7 separate regions of the Homo sapiens genome follow, and regions 1, 2, 3, 4, 5 and 6 are each linked to region 7. Evidence: promoter capture Hi-C in 16 types of primary human blood cells and fetal thymus (Javierre and others, 2016). All regions are on one chromosome and are shown on one strand. Each heading gives the region's core, a stretch centred on a gene start or on the middle of the fragment in contact. The rest is flanking DNA. Distances are from core to core; before and after follow the strand shown. Region 1 overlaps MEF2C (myocyte enhancer factor 2C). Region 2 overlaps MEF2C-AS1 (MEF2C antisense RNA 1). Region 3 overlaps MEF2C-AS2 (MEF2C antisense RNA 2). Region 4 overlaps MEF2C (myocyte enhancer factor 2C). Region 5 overlaps MEF2C (myocyte enhancer factor 2C). Region 6 holds the start of GSCAR (glioma stem cell association long noncoding RNA). Region 7 holds the start of LYSMD3 (LysM domain containing 3).

Region 1 (2,700 bases), core at 52-2,551, 1.8 Mb after region 7:
AGCTGGGATGGTGATGCCTAAATCCGCATGACAGTTAGGACAAATGAGAAAATGTTCGCCAACACAAACCTACTTGATGGACTCTCAATCTTTGGAAAAACAACTTAGTAATAAGTAAAATTTCTTTACCTCTCCCTCACAATCCAGAGCTTACACAGTATGTGCTGTACGTTAAAAGCTCATTGTCTCATTGACAGACTGTTAATTTCACACACACACACACACACACACACACACACACACACGCAAAATCGCTGAACAAAACACAGCCCAAGAAACGTCAAGGACAAATAGGCTAGATATGAAATTCCTGAAGCTCTGGTCCAGCATCAGGTGACATGGTCAAAGAGAAGAGACAGCTCTCTTTTTAGAACGTCTGATGCCCCTGAACTGGTATGGCCAAGAATAGTTCTTGGCTTTGGTATAGTCTTGGGGTATTTCTCTAAGAATATACCACAAAATGCACTGAGGTTTCAGAGAAGTTTCTTCATAGTTTAACATTATGCATTATTATATAATTTCCCTAAGAAACCCCCAGAAAAAGTGGAGCCTTTATTTTGTGTGTAAGAATCCCTAATTAGGAGTCTTTAGCAAGATAAGAATCAGAAATCTGATTTGCCCCCTTTCTACATTAAGCATATTGAAATTTTCATCATACCCAGATTTCTGACCCCTGAATGTTTTGTGGTTGCCTTTTCTCTTAGAGCTATTCAATGTAAAATATCTTTTTTTCTCAAAAAAATAAAAATAAAAACAAAACTGATTTTGATACACAACAGCTGAATAACTCACAGTTCCTAGCATATGTAACAAGGTTTCAGGCATTCAGGCTAGGACTGCAGTCTAGAAGATCATATTTTTCCACTAATTTTTTTTTCAACTGTCACTTCCAGTAGAGTAGGGGATTGTATGAGCAAGTTTATGATACACAATTTAAAGTAATTTTCTATAAAAAGATGTATGTTCATTTGAGGCACAAAACAATATCCTGATATTGGAAACTAACTTTTAATCTTAAAACTTTAAAAACTAAAATATAAAATTAATTGATGATAGTGAGCATTATTATGTATGTGACATTTCCTGTCTAACAACCCAGTATGCTGTAACTGTTTTCAAAATTGCTTTATTTTTTTTTTAAAGTGAGTAAAACATTTTGTTGAAGTAAAAGCAGCAAATTGATACTTCAGAGGTCCAGCTGTGTGTTCAGCTTAATGTTTTCCTGTGTCAATTTGCTTCAAATCCCTCAAAATCAGATACTATTAACAAATTACTAAACAAAATTATTTTTATACATTTATATATTAGAAGTTATTTCCCGGGTAACAACTAATCGCAGATACTAAAAAATACTGGACATTTCACTGTAACATTGGGTGTTTCTGATAGAAGCTGGTCTCTTAAATTGACAGTAAGTAAGTAAGCATCATTACCATTTAAGTATATTACAGGGGAGAAGATTATTGACTAAAATATTACAAAATCTACTTTTAAAAGCATATTTAATCATCCACTCAAAATAGCACACTAAAAGTTAAACAGCTACTCTGGTGTTCAGTGTAGCTAAACTCAGTATTTCCTACTTGTAAATATTTATTTATCCAGAAAGAGACCAGAAATATGGTTTGAACATCACCATTCTGTGCCTCTTTATGAGAATTCAGTGTCTTCTGAACCAGAACTACTATTTACTATGCCCAAGTTGACCTTACAACATGTCCCTCAAACTTGCACATCACCTCTGGCTTAGGACAACCTTGACTGTCCTGTCCCTAGTTGTGTCCTCTCTTCATTTGTATCCCCATAATTTGCAAATGAGACTCGACATAGAAAGGCTTTCACTATCTCAGAGCATGACTGGTTCTGAAGGAGCAGTGTAGTGTTGTACTTCAGGGCATGGACTCTGGACATACTGCTTGGGTTCAAATCATAGCTTCACCAGTTGATAGCTGTTTGACATTGAGCAAATTCCTGGACCTCTCTTTTCTTCGGTTTTCTCATTTCTCATTTTTCATAGGGATACTATTAGTATCCCACAGGGTTGTTCTTGTGAAGATTAAAAGTGCTTTATATCCATGTACAATATCTAGCACTTACATAGCAGTTACAAGTGCCTGGTACTCTTCTGAGCAGTTAATGTGTATGCTTAATGTTGTGTTGTTGGTAAATAATACTATACACTGTGTTAGCGATTGCTAATATTGTTGGATGGTAAGATTGTCAATGACTGCCTCAGATGAGTACCTGAGAGCCTCTCATTCAGATTACTTTCATGCTTCTCTCACACTAGGGAAATACTTCTATTGAGAAAACTAAGGCTCTGTAGGGTTGAGAGAACTCTTAACAGAAACATTTTGAGTAGAACCTAGATTACTCTGCCTTATCTTTTTTTTGTCCCCAACTCCTGGATGCCTGTAAACCTTTCTCTCTGCGCTGCCTCATTCAGACATCATTTCTCATGTATTCTAGAGCAAGGCGTTCTAACTAGCTTCTCTAACAGCAGTCCAACCCCCTTTTGTCTCTCCTTTCCACTGCCATCATTGTTCCTTTCCTAACACAAATTTAATAAAGCTAACAACTAAGAAGCTATCTTAGGCACTCATTTTCTAGAGTATAAAATTTGGTAAAAGCTTAGTATAAAGCCTACAGTGTAAAGTTAACATAATCTTAGAGGTTCATGTTAGCCAAGCCTTCTTTTTC
Region 2 (2,700 bases), core at 160-2,659, 1.6 Mb after region 7:
GCTCATAAACTATTTCGGAGTTATGGGAAGAAAGCTTTAAAGCTTTCAGCTTCTCATTTTCAAAGAAAATGAAATCAAAGAACAAAAATGAAATTTACCAAAGGTCACCAAGGTGGTGACCTTTATGTAGATACAGACTTGGGTCTGTTTCCCAACTTAATATCCAGGGATTTTTTTTCTAATTAGACTTTAAGCATGTTGACTAGTAAACTATAAGTAACAATGATCACATGGAAAATTAATGTGAATTATATTCCTTTGAAGAACCCTTTTCAGTCACCAAATTTAATACCTTGTTAGAGAAATACACATTTTTATCACAGCATATTAAAATGTAGTTCTAAAAAATACAAAGACTATAAATGTACTAAAACATCTATGGTACAAAAGTTTTTTATTTGTCTTACCATTTAAATGGATTTCCAAACTGGAAATATTTATGAATGTATATGAAATAGCAGAAATAAAAAAATTATCAAAGGTAATACATATATTTAGAAGATAAATGTAGAAATCAAAAATATAAGTTGGAATATAGGGTTTTTTTTAAGATTGGGAGTAATTAAAAATACAAAATATACTAACACATAAGTATATGTATATATCAAGTGCATAATACATTATATAGTTCATATAACTGACTTAACAACTGACTAGCTTATGTGTGTGTATATATAACTATCTTATATTAATTCCAAAATTATTAATTATATTAGTAAATATGGTCTATTTATATAATTTGTTGATAATATTTGTGCAATATATTGATCTGGTCAAGGTCATGAAAATATTAATATTCAAGCCAAATATTTGTCTTCTGGATCTCCAGAAAAGAAACTGTTTAGTTGAAATCTACCACATTCTGAATTTATAAGAATTTATTTTAGTCCTGGGCTTTGGAACAGTACTTGCTTATAAGAAGTATTAGCTTTAAAACCCAGACATGTAAATTAATAAGAAAAAGAGATGGGGTAAAGCTTAAAATATTGAGAAAAAATATGGAGGGAAATTGTGGCTAGGGTTCCCCTGCAAGGGATTGATCTAAAATAATCAACATTTTTATGACTAACAACACCATTTAGCAACTAAATTGTATATCTAAATTTGAAAATATATTTGCTTATTCCATTACATTTAGTCCAAATCAACATTAGTCATTAATCAACAAACCATTTAACAATATGTAATAACAGTATGCAAATCAATTGCAAGCAAAATAGTAAATAGCATCCATTTCTAGCAATTTGAAAGATAGGCAAGTTTAATCATTGCCCTGCATCCCAAAGGGGTTTTAGTGAAAATAAGTGACTTGTCCGGTATCTGCTTTTGAAGGATCATAGAGGCTTCCTCATTAGAGTTAAAGAGTGTTCTTCAAAGAGCACCAGAGCAGAAGTAGGAAGATTTGAGTTAGACTCTCTGTTTCACTGCAAAGTCATTTTGTGACTGGAAACAAGTCACTTAACCTCTGTGAGGCTAATGAATGGATGGGCCTTTTTGGCCATTTTGTACAAATCATAGGAAAGTAAGTTTTAGTTATCCAATGAAAGATATTTCCTCTGTTTCATGTGAGGAAGTCTCAAAAGGAATCTGGAATATTATTGGTGGGTTCCTGTCTGCAATGACTGGGCCCCACCCTATCCCTATTGCTATAAGTAGCCCACCATGTAAGCATTCCAAGTAATTAAAACTGACACACTATCTAGCCTGTGAAGTCAGTGGGGAAAACAAAATCACTTTGCAATATACTCCAGAGCAGCAGGCCTTATTTTTTCCACTTGGGGACCCTAGTAACATAATACAAAAAGTCTCATTCTCAAAATTATGTTATGACACGAAGCTTTGAACTTTTCAGTATGCACTATAAGGCTGAATTGACAAAAAAGTACTGAATGGTCATTTAATATTTTTAATTTTATAGAATGACAGGAAAATTTTTAAACTTAGAAAGATATTCTCCACACACAATGCTGTAAGCCAGCATGATAATATATTTATTTATGTCAGGAAAATGTTGGAACAAGAAACAGTGTTAAAAATATCTGAATCCTAGTACAATATGTCTGCTACATATAGGTATTTAGGTTATGTATGATGAATAAATGGAATGAAAGAATGGATAAATACAGCTGGGGAGTTCAATATTTTTAAGGAAAACTTGTAAACTAAAGCAATACTTTTGCAATAGTAATAATCATTTATTATTGCTATTTTTATGTTCATGAGGACAGAATTAAAACATGATTAATGTATTTTTTAAAAAATCTTAATACAAAAGAGGTTAAAGACCTAAGATATGGATCACTCTGTTGACAAGGTTGGCAAAGATGTGCAGGCCCTTTATGACTGCTTGGCAGATGGAGGTGATTACTGAGGTCACAAGGAACATCTGCATTGATTGAAAATCTCTTTACAGAGAAGCCACATTCCTCAAGTGACTATGACCAGTGCCAGTCCTATTTTCCTGGAGTCTAGGCTCACAGCAGGTGGCAGTCACTGAAGGATGAAAATGTTTGGGAGTCACTTATCACCAATGGTAGAGGTCCCTGGATCTGAAGCCCATTTTACAGGTTTTGCAGAGGTATCAGGACCCAATGAACCGATTCCATCCAAGAAAAGATAATGGCTATCCCTCAATTAAGTAAAGATGAAGAATTGTACAGAAATTTGAGATAATTAGGTTTCCATATTGCTTAACTGGTT
Region 3 (2,905 bases), core at 125-2,624, 1.8 Mb after region 7:
ACCAGCCTGGCCAACATGGGGAAACCCCGTCTCCACTAAAAATAAAAAAAAAACAAAATTGGCTGGTGTGGTGGCATGCCTGTAATCTGAGCTACTCGGGAGGCTGAGGCAGGAGAATTGCTTGAACCCAGGAGGCAGAAGTTGCAGTGAGCCGAGATTATGCCACCGCACTCCAGCCTGGGTGACAGAGCGAGACTCCATCTAAAAAAAATTAAAAATAAAAAACTTAAAAAAAAAAAGAAATGAAGAAAGTAGTTACTAACATGGCAAGGGGTTGGGGAAAGAGGTGAATGAGAGGAAAGATTTAACAACACATATTTTTAAATATTGTTTTTATTTTTGAGCTATATGATATGCCACTTATTTTTTTTAAGATTTTAGTTTGAAAAAAAGGCTTCCCCCCAAAAGCAAATGCCACACACTGAATAGATTTACAGGGAACTCTCCTCTAATGAAGCAGCCTTTGGAAAGAAAATGCCAGTGTGTAGAGCAAACCTCAGGACTGATAGGCTCGCCTCTAGGATTCTCCAGGCACAGATGGCCTCAGCTGTCAGTTCTGGATGACACGACCACAACCTTAAGGTTAGCAGTTTGCTTCTCTATTGACTACACTAACTGGCCAAAGAGCCTTACTTAAGCAAGCAGTTTTCTATAATTAAATCACAAATATTAATTTAGAATTCATCCTATAAGGTTTAATTTACTCTGCCTAGTTAATAATCAGTTTATCCTATCAGCCATCTAATATTAAGACTATAAATCTAGAGATCTTGGCTGAATTTCCGTTGCTTCCTTGCTCATTGCCATTGTAACCTGCTCCCCTATGACCAACCCAGCTATAGTATTAGAACACAGAAAGCATGTCATTCTTACCAACTCCTGTGTCCATAACAATCAGCTGAAATTGCATGGAGACTATGTTACTTTTTGGTACTTTCAAATTCATCAGCTAAATTTCCAAGTAAGATTTGGGAGGCTGAAAATAATATTTTTCACTATTTTCCATCTTTTCATTCTTCCCATTTACTATCCTGGTTTATGTGCTTTGCATGTGAAAAAGATTATTTGAGCAAATCAAAAAACATTTTCTTTACTTTAGAGTTCTACTGGCAATAAAAGAATAATGCTTTCCCTCATGAACATGTACAATTGTTATTTATCAATTGAAATAATTTTTTTTCAAAAATAAAGAATAATACTTTCTGGCCAGAAGTGATAGCTTACACCCTGTAATCCCAATGGTTTGGGAGGCTGAGGTGAGCAGATCACTTGAGCCCAGGAGTTTAAGACCAGCCTGAACAACATAGTGAGATGCCTGTCCTACAAAAAAATTTAAAAATTAGCCTGTCATGGTGGTGCACACCTATAGTCATAGCTATTCTGGAGGCTGAGGCAAAAGGGTCACTGGAGCCCAGGAGTTAAAGGTTATAGTGAGCTATGATTGCACTATTGCACTCCAGCCTGGGGGACACAGCAAGACCCTGTAGCTATAAGAGAGAGAGAGACAGAATAATAGTTTCTTCTATCTCTCTCCTGAATCCCCCAACCAGTAATGATATTTGTCCTTTGAGTTTAATAACTACGAAATAACTCAGAAAAATGATTTTTGTCTTCTAACCAATGTGTCCTCTCCAGAGTCCACTTTAAATATACTGACAATACAAAGACATACACAACAGCCCTTCCTCACCTACCTTGATAAAGCCCAGTTTTCTTCCTGCCTTTTTAATAATGCATTTTGTAGACTCTGAGAATAGAAGAGAGAGTTCCTATGAAATATAAAATCAAGAAACAGGAGACATGATACATTGAACTTCTGTATTTTAAAAATTATGTATGACTAGTTATTAGATAAACCAGAATGTAACTAATTTCAGTGCTAATTGTGATAACAATTATTAAAATTCACTCATTAAAATTTATGTGAGGATTATGCTGCATGAAAGAATCTGGGCACAAAAGAGAACAAACTGTATAATTGCATTTATATACAGTTCAAGAACAGACAAAACTAATCTATGCTGATAGAAATGAGAACAGTAGTTGCCTGTTGGTGGCGGTGGGAACTGACTAGAAGGGGGCACCAAGGGACTTACTTCAGTGACAGAAAAGTTATATATCTTGACTGGGATCATTTGTTAAAATTGACCTAGTGTACATTTAAGATCTGTGTATTTCACTCTGTGTAAATTTTACCAGAATTTTAAAATACTTATATGAAGATAAATCTCAAATTCAGAATATTATGTAAGAAATAGTAGTAGGGAGGCCAAGCACGGTGGCTCACGCATGTAATCCCAGCACTTTGGGAGGTCGAGGTGGGCGGATCACGAGGTCAAGAGATCGAGACCATCCTGGCGAACATGGTGAAACCCCATCTCTACTAAAAATACAAAAATTAGCTGGGCATGGTGGCACGCACCTGTAGTCCCAGCTACTCGGGAGCCTGAGGCAGGAGAATTGCTTGAATCCGGGAGGTGGAGGCTGCAGTGAGCCAAGATCAAGCCACTGCACTCCAGCCTGCCAATAGAGCGAGACTCTGTCTCAAAAAAAAAAAAAAAAAAAAAAAAAAAGAAAAGAAAAGAAAAGAAAAAGAAAAAGAAATAGTAGTAGGAGTTACTACTCTAAGGTATCTCCTGTTGAAGTATATGAGGGCCTGCTTCAATACAGATAATCATTATGCTTCCATTGAGCCCTGATTCAAATCAAGATAAACTACTCAAAGAATATTAGTTCTCTTAAATACTTTGAACATACTCAACTATAACATTTGCTGTGCTGTTATATTACCATAGATAAAGGGAAGTAAATTCCAGCTCAATCCTGATCAAGTTAACACAAATGCTAAAGTAGTAGCAGTAATCTAACATAATTACATCGAGACTGATCATGTAATGTAATAATA
Region 4 (2,874 bases), core at 12-2,511, 1.7 Mb after region 7:
TTCATTTTGAAAAATTTGGGGGAAAAGATACCTGAAATTTTTTCCTTGGCCCTAACTTAACGGAATCAATAAATTCCATAACACTGCAAACGTATCTTTCTAATAAATACTTTATTTAAACTTCTTTTATAAAGAACAGCACTGAATAACTCCTTAGCATATCTTAACATTATCTTTTAAAACTTTCTTCTGTTTATTGTAGTATATTTTGTGGTTTTATTTCTCAACTCTAAAGTGTGGTATAATTTGAGTCTATGAAATCTCAGAAAGTGACAAAAATGGGGAAATAGCTGTGCAGCAATACTTGTGCTACATAACAACAAAGACATAGTTATTAAACAGAATTCTGGCTTTGGGGACATGATTCGAAGCAACATAGAAGAATTTAATATGCAATTAATGGTCACAAGATGAACTGTTAAGAGATTATTAATAAAGTTACACTTTTTTTTCAAAAGCACATCCTCTGAGAAAATACCACACAAATTAATATCTAAAACTTATCAAAATACACGTATTCATTCTATACTAATGTGGTGATTGCCTAGACACGATGAAATGATTTAATCACTGTTGTTCCATCAGTATGCTGCATGTGGAAAGACAGGTAATTAAGATCCCCGTCCTTAGCACTGTACCTTAATCTTATAGGCGCGTGGACTGTCTTGCACTCAGTAAAGCTTGACTGTTCACCGAGATCTGTCACCTTTAGGAAATCAAACCAGATTACAGAGGTGATTCACAAAACCAGGAACAACAGAGTCTATGCACGTTACAAAAGGCAGATTACATAGTTCACATGTTATTTTGATAGGTCAAAGATAAAAGCTGATTGTTGAGGAATGGCAAGACACTCAATTTCAAATGATTGCTTAGATAAGCATACTTTGACCCTGTTGCTTCATCATTATGATCCATTCAAACAATGGAAAATTCAGTTTTCAAATGACAGGCTTTCAGTAGTGAAGTAAGAGAAAACATGTCCTTTTTTATGTATGTCTTCATTGTGTAAATTTTAAGTTCCATCATTTCTTTATGAACAAACATTAAATTGTCTGCTTACATGAAGCAGGTATTGTAAGGCTTAAATGCATTAGACATTTTCAGAGGCGTTATAAAGAGCACAAAACAGAATTTGCCAGAAATAAAACATACACTCATGTTATTGAGTAATTCAGCAGAAAATGCATAATAGTCAATATCCATTATGTTATTCTGTTACCAAATATATTCTACATAAAAATGTGTAATTACATAGTTATGAATCCATATATGTGAAACATATCTTCATAAAAGTTCATTGGTCAAATTTTATATATATATATAATATATATATTTCATGAATGTTATATAAAGATCATTCTTTACAACAGAATATGATGTTTTGAGAGTTTATTTCAGAGAATAAAGTTTTGGTTTACATAATAACATTTTGAAAATCTTAACTTCTTACACACCCAACTTTACAGTAATTTTTTGCTTCTTCTAAAATTGAAGTCCTTTTTTACCCAACTGATGCCTCCTAGTGTTTCACACAATAAAACACTAATGAGTCACCCATAAATGTAAACATTGCATTTTCATTGCCTACATCATCTGTGATACATAAAATTAATATTTATGTGTTTAATTTTCTGTGCACTATTATAATAAGATAGAAAATTTTAGTGAATGAGATGTTTCATCTGAGTGGATTTGTGGCACGCACTTGCAGGTTTTCTTTGACCATCACAATATCTTACTAAGTTTTAACAAGTTTATTACCTTCAGTTGCAGTTATATATTCACTCTTTATATTCACTCTTATTTCAAGTGAGAAACATAGGTAAATAACAAAGCTTTCATTTTGTAGGCCTGGGAATTATACAGTTGGGTTCATTCTGAAATGCCTGATAAATTGCACAAGGACTATCCATTTCATTTACACACTAAAATATCTTAAAAGAGATATAATTTTTTTTCCTGCTGTGTCTTTACACTTGAAAATTTCTTTGTAAAAGTGGAATAAAGAAAGACTATTTAGAAAAGATAAAATCAAAGATAAATGCAAAATTTTCTATAAATATGGAGTATATTTATTAGAAAATAACAACAAAAGAAAAACTTTCCTTGGAAGGAAACATATTATTCTACATAAAGGGAAGTCGTGTTAGAACACAATATCCAATGACCAGCAGCTTGCCTTAATGAGGTAGAAGTTAGTGGGTGCCAACTTTGGTGTGAGTTTTCTGCCATTAGGATGGTAAGCGTAGACCTGTGATATTTTTGCATGTTTGTGATTTCAAACAGCTCTCTGATTCTACTTCCTAAGTTTCTAAATGTTTTTTATCCAATATACTTATGAAAGAAAGGGGTCATTCCTGTAATGGGTCTTAAATTGAAAGGAGGCCATCAAAAACTTGTAACATTCATGGGCCTCTTCCTGAGGTGTCATACAACATACCTGTACACAAAAACATTCATGAGTTTCTTCTACTAACACAAACATTCTATAGCATCCAAGTGTAGACACTAGATTGAACTTCATTCTGTATATGTGTCATTTAGTTCTCCTGACTCAAAATACACAGTGTATTAACAATATTTGACTATCACTTAAGATTTTCTAATTTAGTCAATAATACAGTGCTATTACAATTGTTGGACACATTTCAAAGAATGTAAGGGGGTGTGTTCCTTTCGTTCAAGGAAGCAAACATGTAGAAAGGGGTGGACCTTTCCCACAAGAGCCACATTTCTTCCCTTGGAGAATTGAAGCAAATATGCAGTACGTAAGTGAATAGCAGCATGAGAAAGAAAATAATTTGCAATGATCTCCTATAGTTAGTGAGCAAAGAAAATTGTCAGTTTTTTTTAAAGTAGCTCTTATTGACA
Region 5 (2,700 bases), core at 201-2,700, 1.7 Mb after region 7:
ATATACACACAAAACAGTTTTACAGATTACTAAAGTTAAATAATCTCTTTCTTCGCCTCTCTAGGCCTCCTACAAATTGATACTTGAAACTGACCTTTTAATATAGTTTTTGCATAAAAATTAGGTTAGAGAAAATGTTGTGCTAAGAAAACAATGCGTGAGCTATTGTTGACCTTCCTAATTCTTTAAATTTTTAGTGACAGCCTTGAAATGTGGTGACCCATAATCAAATGTTCTAAACCACGTTTCATGATAGACTTTACTTCATGACCAGTTACTTAGTGTCATCATCACCACATATTACTCTGCACGTGTACTTCATACTAAATTTTGGATTTTAGAAATGTTCTGAAGGCAATACCTCAAGAAATATTTATACAGAAAACAAAAGTTTAGTTCTATTGAAATTTAAACTTGCTTCTCTCTACATTGCTTTGCATATTTCAAAAAAGAAAATATATTCAATGGCATTTTTATCAACCACTTATATATACATAGATACATACACACATTCTCTTTGGCAAAATTTTTTTCCAGCATGTTTTAAGAAATTTTTTTTTAAGTCCTTGCTCTGCTCTTTTTAAAAATGGTCTCATTCAAAGTTGTGAAATATGGGGTGATGATATGGAGGAACTCTCCTAAGTTTGGTTCATCAGGAACTCTCTCTGTCTTTCTGAGACTTTTCTCCAAGGATGTTTTGCTGCTTGTTTGGTTATTTGTATTTTGAAATCAGGATCTGTAGATGTTCTTGTCTCTTCTGCCTTATCACCACACTCTAATCTGCTCACCCTGACCTTCCACCTTGAAGTGAATAAGCGCTTAGGCAGGCATAGTCCTGTAAGCCGATAGTGCCACCGGCCTCAGCTAAATGAAAGGAAAGGAAATTGTCCTATATGCATTTGCTGTGGATTCATGGATTGGCTTTCTGTGATAGAGAAAGCTTGTTTGTATCTTTGGGGTCTTAAACGTGCATGGGAAATACCATTCTAACACACTGCTTGCTTCTAAGGTAAGACTATAGGAAACACAGGAAAGTTGCCCCATTGAGTGACATTTAAGACGTTTTCTAAAAATAGATGGACAGTGTCTAGCAACATCAAATATATGATGCAATTATGCTTTGTGGGTTTTTCATATTTTAATGTGATTTCAATATGTTATAACTATTTTTATATGTATTTGTCAAATGTGTGTTATTTCTATAACTCTTTAGAATTTTGAACCACCTCCAACATTTAAAATTACAGCTGGAGCAATAGTTTTTGATGAGCACTGTGTGGTCATAATGTTACTCAACATACATATTATGAGAGGCAGAACTGAGCTGCAGTTTAGTAGAGAGGCGTGAGGCAAAAGAGAATGGATAGTCTTAGTATTTAAGCAGCACTTAATCCACCAGAAGTAATTATATCATAATAGCTTCTGCAATTAAATAATCACCAAAAACTAAAAAAAAAAAAAATACCCAAGGTGATAAAGAATTTGGAAATTAAATTAAAGAAATCAGAAGACAGCTAATGGTCAGACCGAATGTGTAACAGCCTTCCTGTTCCAAGAACTTTGAATTGGAGCCAAACAATCTATTAAATAGCCAGGACATTGGCTTAGCATTACATAATACATGTGGGAATTTATCAGGTCCGTTGTCAGACACCAGCTAAAATAAACAGGGAAATTCTGAGCAGTGTGTAAAGTTGTTGCATTCATTGACCTAAAACGAAGTAGAATAATTGGAGCTGTTGCTTGAAAAACCCATTGTGGAATGCTTTCTTGTTAACTTTCACATTTCAGAGCAATTAACTTCCGTTGTGTTCAAATATTTTCAGATGTAATTTAAAACCAAGTAAAGTATGTACTTTTAATATTCTGGGTTTCTTGGGCTTATCTCATGTTATTGATGATCATTTCTCTAATTTTAATTCCTGACCCAGAGATCTCCAGTATGTAATGTGAAGCTTCTGCAATTTTGTATCTTACTCCACAAAGACATGATATGTCTGTTTCTAAATATTTAAATTTAAAGGAAGGATGGCTTGTTATAAAAAATATGGTTATAAATTGAAGAATAATCTTAATTTTGCACCATTTATTTTGTGTCAATGCTTATCTTTTTTGATTCTTGTTATCTAAGATGTAGTTTAAGGGCTTTCAAAAAGAAAAGATCTCACTGCTGATAGATGCTTGTAATCTAAGATTAAATATTCCATATTATTTTTAAGGTGTTCTCACAGCAATAATTTTTTTAAAGTAAGATTAAAGGATTTAGATTTAAATTAGTTGACATTTACATATATCAAATAGCACTTTCATAATCGTCCATCCTATTTGCATAACGAGGGACGTTATCACCTCTGCTGTCAAAACAGGAGATTGTTTTCCCTTCAGAAATGAATTAGCTGCCCTACTTAGCATACACAGGTACATAAAGGTTCATTAACTCTCTGATTTAGGTAATTTTTCATAACGGGTGAAATTGTCACCTAATTTCATTAAAAAGATTAGGAAACTTTTTACAAAAAAAAATACATTTCAAGTGTTAGTCTTTAAAAAAGCATAGTTTGCATCATTTAAATGACTTGTTAAATTACTTATGAGATCATTTTAATTGTTAAAAAATAAAACTACTTGATCTGCTCCTGTCTGTGATATACCATATATTTTTAACAAAAAAGTTATTTTTATTCATTTTATTGCTTTAGC
Region 6 (2,704 bases), core at 21-2,520, 1.8 Mb after region 7:
ACAGTCAGAGGATATGCTATTCAAATTGGCATATCATCCTCAGTTGAAGGTGACATCTTCTGCTTTTTTTTTTCAAAAATACCATTTTAAGGAAAAAATAAACTAATGAGGTTCATTTTCTCATGTGTCTCAGAAATAGATTCCAATGACAAAATGAATGGGAGGAAGAGAAAGGGAAAATGGATGAGGAGGAGAAAAATGAGGATGAGAGAGGAGGAAAAAAGGAGGAAGTGGAGAAATAGAAGAATCCAAATATATTGTAAAAAGACACTTTATTCAAATAAGTACATAATCTCACAGCTGAATACTTTCCATGAATATTCTGACACATTTATTTAAATTTTTGAAATCTTACTTTATGCATGTTATAATGGAAAATAGAGGATGAATCTCTTTATAATTTTATCTCATTTATGTTAAATACAAAGATATTCTAGATCAGAACTAACAAGATGAAAGTAATTTATTAAAAGTATGAAATTTCATTAAAGTAGTATTTAATTTTTTTATGTTGGCATGATTGGTCTATTACCAACAACCTTCAAGGAGCTAACTCTTTTATAATCTTTATTCCTGGTGCTTGATTTTCCTCTTTATATCAATCCACTATGTGTTCCACAATTCTAATCTCAGATTTAAAAAATAAATGGTCAAAGGGAGTGGCAAAATATTTGAATTGCTTTCAGAGGTTTGATGGTAGGACCCAGAAGACATAGAGATTGCCAGAATTAACATAACAGAGGATTCAATGTGCTCCTGTGAGAAGCATTGATTGGGGTGGGAATACAAGTCTGTTTCAAGCTTTCTGTACTGGTAGTAACTACTCACAGCTTCTACTCTTGCTTCTTAACCATAGCTTTCCTTTTTTTTTCTTTCCAGGGCTATAAGATTTTTATTTGATTTCAATAATCTTCCACCTGTATCTCCTTTTTACTTATAATGAAAAATTTCAGTTCTGTAAGACACCAATATAATGACTTACTTGCTTTATCTCATAATATATAAACAGTTGCAAAATATGAATAACAGCACTACAACTAGCAATATGATGATTGCTTAACAGCTAAAGATTATTTTTAGGGTTTTTTTTTGCCGTGATTATTTCTTAAGGTATAAAAAGTCAAATTACTACACAGCTTTCCTTTATAATGGGCAACCAAGTACCATAGGTTGAAGGGCTACTCTTCAGCAGTTATAGCCTCACTTGAAAACTCGGCTGACCTCTGCTAAGAGCTTCCACTTAGCGGTTGGTAGTTGTGTTCAGACTCTGCCTCTGCTACTTACTAGCTCTATACCTTTGTGAAAGCCATTTAATGTCTCTGCCTCAGTTTTCAAATTGGAAAGAAGAGAGGGAGGAAGAAAAACAGAAGGAAAAACCCTATTTTACATGGTTGTTCTCAGACTAAGAAAAAATATATAAAGCATTTACCTCAATGCCTAGAGCTTAAAAATTATTAAGCAAATGGTAACTATATTATTTAGCTCATGAGCCAAATTCTTTCCAGATAAAATTTTTAGAAATCAATAGAAATAAAACTTGCCACGTAAAAACAATTTTCCACCTTCAACAGAAATATATGGGCAGGTAAATTCTGTCTTATGCAAACTTTTGTGGTTCTTTAAAATTAACCGTAGGAGGAAAAAGATTTACAATGTATTTTGGGGGGGAGGGGCGGGAATGGCAGTGAGGGAGACAAGAAATATGTAGGGAAAATCATCTTAGAAAAAATAAAGCTTCTTAAAATTGATATAAGCAGAGGGTGGAAACTGAGGCCGGGAGATTATTACTCGTCCACGCTTACAGGGTGGGGTGGGGCAGCGTTCTCCAGGGTTTCGCCTTTGCCGAAGACCCGCTCCACCTTCTCTCGACCCAGATGCCCTTGTCGGGAAGAGTATGCTGTCCTCAGTGCCTGGGACAAGCTCACAAGCCCTCGTCTGTTCCAGGAATTCCAGTCCAAGCTCAGTCCTCTCTCCATCCCGGGGCATCCTAAGCGTGTCTTTGAACCGCACTGTGGAGTTTCACTCCGAAAGTCCTTCTTACAGAGCAACTCCAAGGATGGGCTGAAAAGCACATAGAGAAAATGGAACAGTGCGAAGTTGGAAGGTCCGTGCGGGTGGCAGCGCCAGTGTGGGGATGAGATGCTCACAGGACGGTTTTTAGGCGGCTCACAAGGGTTTTTTCTTTCTTTTCTTTCTTTCTTTTTTTTTTTTCTTTTTTCTTTTTCTTTCTTTTTTTTTTTTTTTTTTGAGACGGAGTCTCGCTCTGTAGCTCAGGCTGGAGTGCAGTGGCGCGATCTCCGCTCACTGCAACCTTTGCTTCCCGGGTCCCGGTTCAAGCGATTCTCCTGCCTCAGCCTCCCGAGTAGCTGAGATTACAGGCGCGCGCCACCATGCCCAGCTAATTTGTGTATTTTTAGTAGAGACGGGGTTTCACCATGTTGGCAAGGCTTGAACTCCTGACCTCGTGATCCGCCCGCCTTGGCCTTCCAAAGTGCTGGGATTACATGCGTGAGCCACCGCGCCCGGCCTCACAAAAGTGTTTTTGAAGGCTCCATTCCCGAAGACTGAGTGAGGTATTCGATATCCTCCTCCCTCATTGAAAAGTTGTGTAACAGGAATCTAAGTTCATGCCGTTTGATTCCCAAGACTTCTCCAAGCCGCACTGTAGAGCAGGAAAATCGACTAATATTACTGCTCAGATTAT
Region 7 (2,700 bases), core at 197-2,696:
ACCTATAGACAGAAAGAAGGTTGTATTCCCATTAACATTCATGAGGGCTAAGCAGCCGAAGTCCTACATATCAAGCAGGGAATATATCCTTTGTCTGCTGATGAGAGAACGTCTCAGTGATAAATGGTTACAGACAGGGGTGTCATGAGGGCAACAACACACAGAACAATTCAGACAAACTTTTTAAAAAAGTCTTCTCCTGCAGTTTTTTTTTGTGGCGCTGGGAAGCACAGTGCCTATCCCTGCTAATAAAAGAAAACTATTGCAATGCAAAACTCCTAACCTTTGCAGAGGCACTTACCAGAAAACCAAAAACATACTCTTTGAAAAACAATTTAAAACCAAGCTTCAAAGGCTTTCTAATGTATAAATATTCAGACATTCTGAAAAGCACTGCTCTGCACCCTGCACCCCAGCTATTTGTGCCTAAAATGGATATTGTCGTAACAGTTAGCATGGTTGTCAAAGTGCAACGTCTCTAATATCAACACTGAGAGACATCAGACTCATTAAAATGCTTTACATTCATTAATTAGGTTGGTGCAAAAGTAGTTGCGGCTTTTGCCAAAGTCATACATAAATTCAAACACATTATGATACTCATTTAACACATTTGTGATAAAAATCATGTATGAAGTCATGAGTTTATTTAATAAGCTAATATTCCATAGAGTCCAATGGTGACTACCAATGACTCAGTTAATTTTCAAACCAAAATAAGTTAGATTACAATTTGTTGACTCCCTTGACTCCTCGAGCCAGGGAAAACATTTCCTGGGGCCTGACTCTAGGTGGCTCACTTCCCTCACCTAAAAACAGGAAGGGTGAGACAACCCCCTCCAACCCTCGTCCTCGGTCCCCCAAGGATTTCTCTCCAGAATTCTGCCTCTTCTGCAGCAGTCTGGAGTCTTCAGCATGAAAAGGGTAACAAACATGGCGCAATTTTCTGAAACCGTGATGTCAACAGTGTTTTTGAGGTGTCCTTTCCCACCCTAAAGAAAATTCGAGATGCACAGCAAGAAAAAAATGCAAGACAGCTCCCCGACACATCCTGAGCCACGCCTCGTCCTCAGGGTGCACCCGACAGTCTCTGCCAGCGCAGTGTGGACGCTGGACAAAGACGCAGCCAGTAGGTCGCTGGTGGTCGCGGGTTGGATCCGCTGACTTGGCCACCAAATCTTTTCCTCGGGGAGTGAAGCGGCACGGAAGGAGCGGAGTCAAGGGCGGGGCTGGGGATTGGACCCGCCCCCGGGCCCGGGGATTGGACCCGCCCCCGGGCCCCGGAGGAGTCCCTGCGCCTGCGTGCCGGGCGTGGACCTGTGGTTGGACTCCCCCGTTTTGGGCTGCCCTCCGCGTCCTCCCCCGCCCCTTCCCACCTCCGCCCACTTGACGCGATGACGCATCTCAGGTTTGCGGACGTGGCGGCGGCGTACGGCCCGGAAGGCGGAGACGTTGGCGGCAGAGGCGGAGGCGGACGGGGTCAGCCCAAAGCAGAGGCTCGGCCATGAACTTACCCGGGACAGCGGCGGCGGCGGACCTTTTGGCCATCTTCTCGCAGAGTGCTCCCTGCTAACGGGGACAGGTAAAGATGGTGGCAGGAGGTGAGGGTAGCCCGGTCCAGGAGGGCGGGGTTGAGCCCCAGCTGCGTCCTCACGGGAGGCGCTGAGCCTCGGCCACAGGTGTGGTGGGGGCTGCAGGGCCGGGCTCGGCCCGTGTGGCGGACACCCCCGAGACAGGGAAGAACTTCCAGACCAGCCCTGCCAGGCCCTCTTGTCACACTGTCGGGGAAACTGAGGCTCAGAGGAAGGACGCCTACCTGCTGGATTACCTGGGCAGCTAATTTCCCACCCAAACACAGCATTTCTCCCACGACTTTATGTTGGCGTGAAATATTCGCTGACGGCATCTTGTCACATCGTTCAAGTGTCATGCTGTGACAGAAGACTCTGAGACGTAATCTTCGCTGACGATAGCAGGGAAAGAAAAACTTGACGTGTGGAATACAGAGGGAGGAGGTAGTTAAGTTTTAAAAAACAAAATTGTCCCTGGCAGCGGATAGGGTGCCTTTGATTCTGTCCCTTTGCAGCTTTAACTTGTGCCCTGTGACCCTCTTATTGCACCTTGCTTAGTTAAAGAAGGTCAAGGCGAAACACCCAGCAGCCATTCTACAGTACGAAGGTGTTTGGGAAACCGTTTTCAGTTACAGACTGAGCTGAAGAATGCTTTAACACTGTTTTGTGGCCCCTCGTAATCTAGGTAGCACGCAGGCTTGTTCCAAGTTTCTGAAAGGGAGTTCGTGCCTTTTTCCTGCTCTAAGAGAATTAAGAGAGGTGAATAGAATTGAGCCAGATGACTTAAATATTATGTATTTTCTAATCTCTGAGTAGTAGACTGGAGTGATCGCCTGGGTCAGTCTGTTCACTTCGGTTGAAGACACAGCCAGTTCTTGATCATTCAGAATACCCAGATTTGTAACACGATAGTCAGCTGCCTGCATTTCATTATAAAGGGGAGTGGAGAGATAGTGAGACAGGTGAAGTTCTGACCTTTAAATTATATTTAGAAATATATCGTGGAGAGAGGTTGATAGAAACAAGTATCTAAAATGGCTTTGGGGCATTGCTTAGTGATTTTCAGTTAGCTGCACTACTAAGCCAATTTTGAAGTTCTAAGTACAAATTATTAGGGTGAAACTGTCTA

Evidence for each region. The method cuts DNA at HindIII sites, captures the fragments that hold promoters and counts their contacts. A CHiCAGO score of 5 or more calls a contact.
Region 1: a contact is called between a fragment that was not itself captured here and the fragment with the promoter of LYSMD3 in region 7, in 8 of 17 cell types (non-activated CD4 T cells, fetal thymus, total CD4 T cells and 5 more). The highest score is 15.1, in non-activated CD4 T cells.
Region 2: a contact is called between a fragment that was not itself captured here and the fragment with the promoter of LYSMD3 in region 7, in 1 of 17 cell types (total B cells). The highest score is 6.4, in total B cells.
Region 3: a fragment that was not itself captured here is called in contact with the fragment with the promoter of LYSMD3 in region 7 in 6 of 17 cell types (total CD4 T cells, naive CD8 T cells, naive B cells and 3 more); the score reaches 11.6 in total CD4 T cells.
Region 4: a contact is called between a fragment that was not itself captured here and the fragment with the promoter of LYSMD3 in region 7, in 3 of 17 cell types (fetal thymus, naive B cells and erythroblasts). The highest score is 15.2, in fetal thymus.
Region 5: a contact is called between a fragment that was not itself captured here and the fragment with the promoter of LYSMD3 in region 7, in 3 of 17 cell types (total B cells, fetal thymus and erythroblasts). The highest score is 7.0, in total B cells.
Region 6: a fragment that was not itself captured here is called in contact with the fragment with the promoter of LYSMD3 in region 7 in 3 of 17 cell types (naive B cells, total B cells and fetal thymus); the score reaches 11.3 in naive B cells.

What each region holds. Positions count from the first base shown.
Region 1 is chr5:88,737,779-88,740,478 of GRCh38, reverse strand. All of the region lies in intron 6 of MEF2C (myocyte enhancer factor 2C), which reads left to right. Among named protein-coding and RNA genes, the nearest start is that of GSCAR, 42 kb to the right of the region's middle. The HindIII fragment of the contact is 2,662 bases long and covers 1-2,632 here.
Region 2 is chr5:88,898,257-88,900,956 of GRCh38, reverse strand. The region is part of intron 1 of MEF2C-AS1 (MEF2C antisense RNA 1); the gene reads right to left. It also overlaps a transcript of MEF2C not described here. Among named protein-coding and RNA genes, the nearest start is that of MEF2C-AS1, 16 kb to the right of the region's middle. The HindIII fragment of the contact is 860 bases long and covers 980-1,839 here.
Region 3 is chr5:88,711,655-88,714,559 of GRCh38, reverse strand. MEF2C-AS2 (MEF2C antisense RNA 2) reads right to left here. Exons shown (of 4, transcript NR_146284.1): 3 at 1,695-1,769. Among named protein-coding and RNA genes, the nearest start is that of GSCAR, 16 kb to the right of the region's middle. The HindIII fragment of the contact is 3,530 bases long and covers 1-2,905 here.
Region 4 is chr5:88,877,835-88,880,708 of GRCh38, reverse strand. All of the region lies in intron 1 of MEF2C (myocyte enhancer factor 2C), which reads left to right. Among named protein-coding and RNA genes, the nearest start is that of MEF2C, 3.9 kb to the left of the region's middle. The HindIII fragment of the contact is 1,158 bases long and covers 683-1,840 here.
Region 5 is chr5:88,824,028-88,826,727 of GRCh38, reverse strand. The region is part of intron 1 of MEF2C (myocyte enhancer factor 2C); the gene reads left to right. Among named protein-coding and RNA genes, the nearest start is that of MEF2C, 58 kb to the left of the region's middle. RefSeq lists a silencer at 1,542-1,836. The HindIII fragment of the contact is 1,015 bases long and covers 943-1,957 here.
Region 6 is chr5:88,694,703-88,697,406 of GRCh38, reverse strand. All of the region lies in intron 1 of MEF2C-AS2 (MEF2C antisense RNA 2), which reads right to left. It overlaps GSCAR (glioma stem cell association long noncoding RNA), which reads left to right and starts at 263. Exons shown (of 3, transcript XR_007058863.1): 1 at 263-2,704. RefSeq lists an enhancer at 494-1,473. The HindIII fragment of the contact is 933 bases long and covers 804-1,736 here.
Region 7 is chr5:90,528,330-90,531,029 of GRCh38, reverse strand. LYSMD3 (LysM domain containing 3) reads left to right here and starts at 1,446. Exons shown (of 3, transcript NM_198273.2): 1 at 1,446-1,582. RefSeq lists enhancers at 790-1,049, 1,675-2,175 and a silencer at 1,160-1,409. The HindIII fragment of the contact is 4,420 bases long and covers 349-2,700 here.